Regions from separate parts of the Homo sapiens genome. Here region 2 is linked to region 1. Evidence: promoter capture Hi-C in human tissues and cell types (Jung and others, 2019). All regions are on one chromosome and are shown on one strand. Each heading gives the region's core, a stretch centred on a gene start or on the middle of the fragment in contact. The rest is flanking DNA. Distances are from core to core; before and after follow the strand shown. Region 1 holds the start of ZSCAN30 (zinc finger and SCAN domain containing 30). Region 2 overlaps MAPRE2 (microtubule associated protein RP/EB family member 2).

Region 1 (3,408 bases), core at 51-2,550:
ACTATGCCCCTACAGTAGATAAGAAAAATGACCAAAACTGACAGATTAGCAATGAGGTCATTATACAGGGAAAAATGAATGACTTTGGGGTCTTAAAAAAGTGGAGAGAGCTGCATGAGAATTTGATCGCCAGATTTTGAAATAAAGTCATGTGACTATGCTTGGTACACTAAAGAGGTAATACTGCCTAACAGAGTTAAGGGGGATCATTTGAAGACACTAGCATAGAGTGACACCCCCTCATCCTCCCCACCCCGCCAAAGCCACTAAGAAAGATATAATACCCTGCCTCTCACCTGACAGAAGGTGGTGTTCCTGAGATTCATAATTGAACTGGATCTCCATGGGCTGCAACTGGACACCTCAGTGTGCAAGTGGAGAATTACCATTTCCTCTGTAAGCTTTTCTTGTCCACATAAAGGTCTGGGACCTGGAGGCAACTGGGCACCACTGGGCTTGGAAGGGAATCATTGTGCTGACTACAGATGTAATCTCTGAGACTAGACCACCAGAAAAATCCTCAAGATATAAAAGAAGGAGAAAACAAAAAATCTCATTTGACTTCCAGTTGCTTTTCTCTCAGAATGTATTAGGCTTCCTCCCCATCATCCAAGAGCCAGGGATTAACCCACTTAAGACACACATTCCCCATTCCAAGTCTAGAGATGTTCAAACAAAATTAGGGGTTAATGCTACCAAAAAAAGGTATAACTGGAAAGATAACGCAGAGAGGGGAATTTTACAGTGAATTCTAGTGGTTAACACTATGTTATTCGCTGCCCTTCCTATCCAAAAATGACACTACTGATCATTTTTCTTCCTTTTGCTTTTACAACATTCACAAATTCAGGTGGCTCTTTCCCAGTACGGTAGGCTGATTCGTATGGATGCACCACGGTTGGTGACTCCCCCCACCCCACAGAGTTTCTGGCGTTCATTCGGTTGAACCCAAGGCCAGCAAGGGCTGACTGGGAACAAACCGAACACTAGGCCGTGAACCAATCGTCTCTCCGTGCCCGGGAGCGACCCCGGGGGCCTTCACTCTCCAAGGACTCGAGAAACCATGCACAGTTTCCTGCTCGTTAGGCAAGATCACCCGGAACTCCTCTGCTATCCGCGAGCCGACATCACCCTTACCTCGACTTGGTCACCGGACCGCTGTGAAGCCTCACACCCGGCGAACCTGCCATCGCCCTGTCCGCTCTAGGAATCTGGGAGGAGTGCTCAGCTCTATGGCGCTTCACCGCGCAGGCGCAGGGCGGGGGTGGGGCACCGGGTGACGGAGGGCTGCCGAGAATTAACCCCCGAACCGCCGCGAGCTGTCCCTAGCAGTGCCTTAGCCAGGGACCTGCTTGGCCAGCGACAGATCCTTTGCTGCTCTGTCTGCCGGTTCTTGAGGTGAATGTCGGAATCCATTATCTTTCGGGAAAGCTCTCTGGGGCAGGGTAGGTTTTCTTACTACATACAAGTTCTTAATTAGTTATCGTTTTTTAAATAACCACCCCTCCCCCTATCGCTTATCTGATTCGTAGGTATGCTTTAATTCTAACTTTCTTCCTGTCCTCTCTGGTTTTTCACACCCCCAGAAGAGTAGCGCGCATCAGAATCACCTGGAGGCCTTGTTAAAATACTGACTTCTGCCCCACAACTCCGGAGTTGCTGATTTAGTAGTGGGGGAGGGGGCGGTGGCAGCCCAGGTTCTCAGGTGATCCTGAAGCTGTTGGTCCTGGGACCACATTTTGAGAACCACTGCCCAAGAAATAAGTGATGCTCAGTAATTAATCCCTGAATTAACGGAAAGTTGGATTTTTATCTACTTTGCAATCTAGAAAGGGTACGAGGTCTATTTAAGGTTTGCTTGCTAGAACAATTCTCACTGATCAGGGTGAGAAGGACCCGAAATGGAGGGTGCGGGGTAATCAGGGTAGGAAAGGATATTGCTGTGTTCATGGAAATATCTTGGGAAATGAGGAGTTGGGACCTCATTTCTGTTGAGACCAATGAGACGTGTGACTTGGTTTAAGCTGTCCGGTGGGGAAAGGAAGAGGTTTGAGAAAATGGTGGGTGGCTAAGTGGTAGTTGAGGTGGAGGAAGAGGGCTTCCTGTCCCAGCCCAAGTCCCTGTTGGGATATATGAAATTTAGGGATGTATGACTAAGCCCTTAATATAACCGTAAGAGGAAAGAGATGTGGGAACTTGAGTCCAACCCTCCCAAGTAGGGAGTGCAGATAGTTTTAAAAAAACAGCTTTCTTTTTGGCCAGGCGCAGCTTAGGCCTGTAATCCTAAAACTTTGGGAGGTTGAGGCAGGTGGATCACCTGAGATCAGGAGTTGGAGACCAGCCTGGCCAACAAGGTGAAACCCTGTCTCTACTACAAATACAAAAATTAGCTGGGCATGGTGGTGTGCGCCTTTAATCCCAGCTACTTGGGAGGCCGAGTCAGGAGAATCGCGTGAACCCATGAACCCAGGAGGCGGAGGTTGCAGTGAGCCGAGATTGCGCCACTGCACTCCAGCCTGGGTGACAAAGCGAGACTTTGTCTCAAAACAAAACAAAACAAAACAAAACAAAACAGCTTTATTGAGGTATAACTGACATAAACAGCAAATATTTAAAGGATATAATTTGATAAGGCTTGTTAAATGAATACAGCTGTGGAACTATCACTGCAATCAAAATAATATGTTTATTACATCTAAACCCCAAAAGTTTCCTCCTGCCCGTTGGTAAGCCTCTCTCCCAATGCCCCCTCCACTGGTCAGCTGTTACTAGAGATTAGTTTGCATTTTCTAGATATTTATTTAAATGGAATCATACAGAATGTCCTTGTTTTTGTCAGAGTTGTTTCACTAAGCTTTTATTTTGAGATTTATCTTTATTGCTGTGTGTATCAATAGTTAATTTTTGTTGCTGAATAATATTCCATTGTATGTATATACCACAGTTTGTTTATCCAATCACCAGTTCATGGGCATTTGGGTTATTCCAGGTTTTTACTGTTACAAGTAAAGCTGAGAACATTCATGTACACACGTCTTTATATGGACATATGCTTTTTTCCCCCTCTCTCATGGTAGATGTACATTTAATGTTTAAAAAAACCCACACTACTTTTCAGAGTGGCTGTATCATTTTGCATTCCTAACATGAGTACATGAGAGTTCCGGTTCCTCCACATCCTTACCAACTCACTGTGTATCTCACTGTGGTTTCAATTTGCATTTCCATACTGACTAATAATATTTAGCATTTTGTAATGTGCTTATATGCCATCTGTATATATTCTTTGGTGAAGTATCTGTACAAATCTTTCGTCCATTCTGGACACTAGTCTTTTGTCAAATATATGCTTTGTGGCCAGGTGCCATGGCCCAAGCGTGTAATTCCTGCACTTTTTGTAGGCCAAGG
Region 2 (3,255 bases), core at 434-2,933, 210 kb after region 1:
TAGGATAATGTGCTCATCAAATTTTACCAAAATAAGGTGTCTGACTTGGTAAAATATGATTTGGCTTCTCCAGAGGAGCCAAGAAGGAAGAAGTAGGAGAGGCACTGGGAGCACAGGGCAGGAATGGTGTGCAGGACAAAATGTCACTGGCTTCCAGGGAGGCTGATACTGAAACTGGCAGTGCGATGTCTCACAGGCTAGAGTCTGAGAGTGGAGCTAAAGTTAGAATTTGACATTCCAGATAGAGGAGCAAAGGGGACATAAAAAGCTTTTACTACAAATGAAAAACAAGTTCGAAAGTTACATATGAAACCCATTCTGAAGAAGTCAGTTTTCTCATTAGGGTCATGAAAATAGAAAGTTTCATAAAGCTCTAATATCATGGGATATAGCTTCTCCACATGTGCACTCACGTATTCTCACACACTTGTATTACCCTTCTACTTTAATGGACAAAAAGGTGCTTTATTTTTTAAAGGATTGATTAAATATGTAAGGTCAAATTTAAGGTAAGACTTAAATTTAAGGTAAGACTTAAGAAGAGCTTGAGTAGAAGGTAAGAATCTGAAAAGATATGAGATCTTATCTAATTTTTGTAGTCATAGGTCACCTCTAAAGAAATGCCCATCTGTAGGTGGCATGGAGAGATGTCACTTTGTTTATTTAGCAATGTTAAACAAACCAGCAAATACTTATTGAGGAATATGACCTTAGTCTTAATAAGAACCAAGTAACTTAGTCTTGAGAGTCTGGAGAAATACACATGGAAAAACAGCAAAAATACAAAACAACTATAAGTGCTAAACTGTATGGCCTAGATACATAAATATTAGTAATATTTATAAATATAGATACATAAATATTAGTTCCATACAGTTAGTTCAAAGTCTGCCCAATAAAAAAACAACAAAGAGTAATCAGTATTATCAAACACATAAAATCAAGCCAAACTTGCATGATCATTTCAGTCCCCAAGGAGCTTAACTCCGAATGCTGAAGACTTAAAACAAGTACTCAATGAGCGTAAGGCTTTGTAAAGGTCTGATCATTGAAAAGAGAGAGAGAGCTCACATTTTGTTGAATGTGATCAGGAAGAATAGGGCAAAGTGGCATTTGATATGAATTTCAAAGGAGATACTCCAAGCAAAGACAAGGAATCAGGGCATATAAGTGAAACGTGCGTTTGAGGAAATACAGGTTATGGGTAGGGAGGCTGTGGGGATAAATGTTGGAAAGGTGGAATGCAGCTAGATTGCTCAAGGCTTTAAATGCCAGGAAAAGAAGAAGCTTAACTAATTTGGTAGGCAAACCAATGCTGATTTCTGGGCACAAACGTCTTTAGAGAATGCCATTTTTAAGTTCTAATTTTCAGAACGTATGTATTTTTTTTTTTTTTTTTTTTTTTGAGACGGAGTCTCGCTCTGTCGCCCAGGCTGGAGTGCAGTGGCGCAATCTCGGCTCACTGCAAGCTCCGCCTCCCGGGTTCACGCCATTCTCCTGCCTCAGCCTCCCAAGTAGCTGGGACTACAGGCGCCCGCCACTACGCCCGGCTAATTTTTTGTATTTTTAGTAGAGACGGGGTTTCACCGTTTTAGCCGGGATGGTCTCGATCTCCTGACCTCGTGATCCGCCCGCCTCGGCCTCCCAAAGTGCTGGGATTACAGGCGTGAGCCACCGCGCCCGGCCCAGAACGTATGTATTTTTAGGTCAAATTAAATTGCAAGTAAGAAACCTAAAGCTGATCCCTTTCCCCATTTTCTCAGAGAATTTCTACTGAACCATTACCCACATCATACTATCAACAGTTATACAGGCCAGGCCACTACATGAACTCTATGTATGGCAGCCCACAGAGAGGCTTTTAGTATAAGGTAAAATATACTGGTATGAGTGGACCAGCGCAAACCCACGGTCCACGTCTACACAATGCGCCCCTTTCTCAAGTTGCTCATTTTGAGGCTGAGGTCACTATCCCTGGCACTAGAGACTAGAAGCTCCAGGATTCTTCCCCAGATTTCAGCCATTTCACCCTCTCCCCAAGACTTGCAGGTGAGAACTCCATACTTATGGCCACTCTCCCCAGTCCAGTCCTCTAGCTTTCATCTACACCAATAACATCCCCTATTACCACTTTCCAGAGGAGGATGCTCCTTCCCCGGCAGCTCCCTGAAAAGAGTCCCGTCCAGAGAAAGCCCAGAAGGCCAGGTGTGGCACCAAAGGAAGCCTCCAGCAATTACAGACAGAGAGGAACTCACATTCAGGCACCACATAACATTCGTGCAGACTGTGATACTAACAGAATATTGTTCTTTATGAGTTGCTTTCTTTATATTTCCCAGGTTAATCCCAAAATATACTTTGCTTTCTAGGTACACTCTAGTATCAGAAGGATCCCAAATCAGTTTGAAGAATGCACAGTATTTACTTCAGGGATTCAATCATATGACCACAGTAGAAATAAAAGAATGGAATAATTTTTGGAAAAAAAAAGAAGCAGGAAAAGATTTCTGTGAGGTTTTTAAATAGTAGATTTTAACACAATTCTGCGCAATTTTAAAGTTGATGTACATCTTTTCATTAAAATTTGGCTCCTTCTACACTTTTGTAAAGTTCTTCCATGAGCTGTCATACAAATGTAATCTAGAAGAAATGAAAATGGAGAACGATCCTCCTCATGCAGAATGCGAAGAGAAACTGCAGGAAACAGGACTCGCATTAGTTTCACATTTATATGCTTCTCATGTCAAATAATTTGGTCATAAAAAGCTTATGAGTATTAATATTTGGGTAAGAACACACCCTTGGGAGGGAGGGGACAAACACAGGTAATTTGCTATTTGTCAGAATTACGTAATGGTTTCAGGGTGGGAAAAAAAAAAACGCAATCTGAAAAATGATGGTGTCTTTACGAGTTGCCAAGCAATTTCATTATTCTGTTTCCAGGTATGCAATTCTAACATGCCCAAACATTTGACAGTGATTTCTGACACTCCTTTTTAATAGTGTCTACATGTCTGATAAACTAGAAATTTAAAAACACAATTCAGAAAAAAATTGGTTAGGAAAAATGTTTTCTTTTGAAGAGCAGAAGAATTTGGAGATGTTTGGCTTGATTATCTTAACTGTGTAGAAACCAGATGCCTGCTAATATTTCAGATGTTTCCATGTACAGACTGCCCATTAGTGCCCTACACTGAATGATGGCAAGACAGGCTGGACGTGTACCTTTCTCCAGGGGCCTTTCTCTGCCTTTGC

The links. Contacts are between HindIII fragments. The study calls those that stand out against the background at their distance.
Region 2: a contact is called between a fragment that was not itself captured here and the fragment with the promoter of ZSCAN30 in region 1, in 1 of the 25 tissues and cell types used here (dorsolateral prefrontal cortex).

Annotation. Positions count from the first base shown.
Region 1 is chr18:35,288,121-35,291,528 of GRCh38, reverse strand. It overlaps ZSCAN30 (zinc finger and SCAN domain containing 30), which reads left to right and starts at 1,300. Exons shown (of 4, transcript NM_001112734.4): 1 at 1,300-1,445. It also overlaps the pseudogene ZNF271P. RefSeq lists an enhancer at 1,024-1,183. The HindIII fragment of the contact is 7,442 bases long and covers 1-3,408 here.
Region 2 is chr18:35,080,440-35,083,694 of GRCh38, reverse strand. All of the region lies in intron 2 of MAPRE2 (microtubule associated protein RP/EB family member 2), which reads right to left. Among named protein-coding and RNA genes, the nearest start is that of MAPRE2, 41 kb to the right of the region's middle. The HindIII fragment of the contact is 4,180 bases long and covers 1-3,255 here.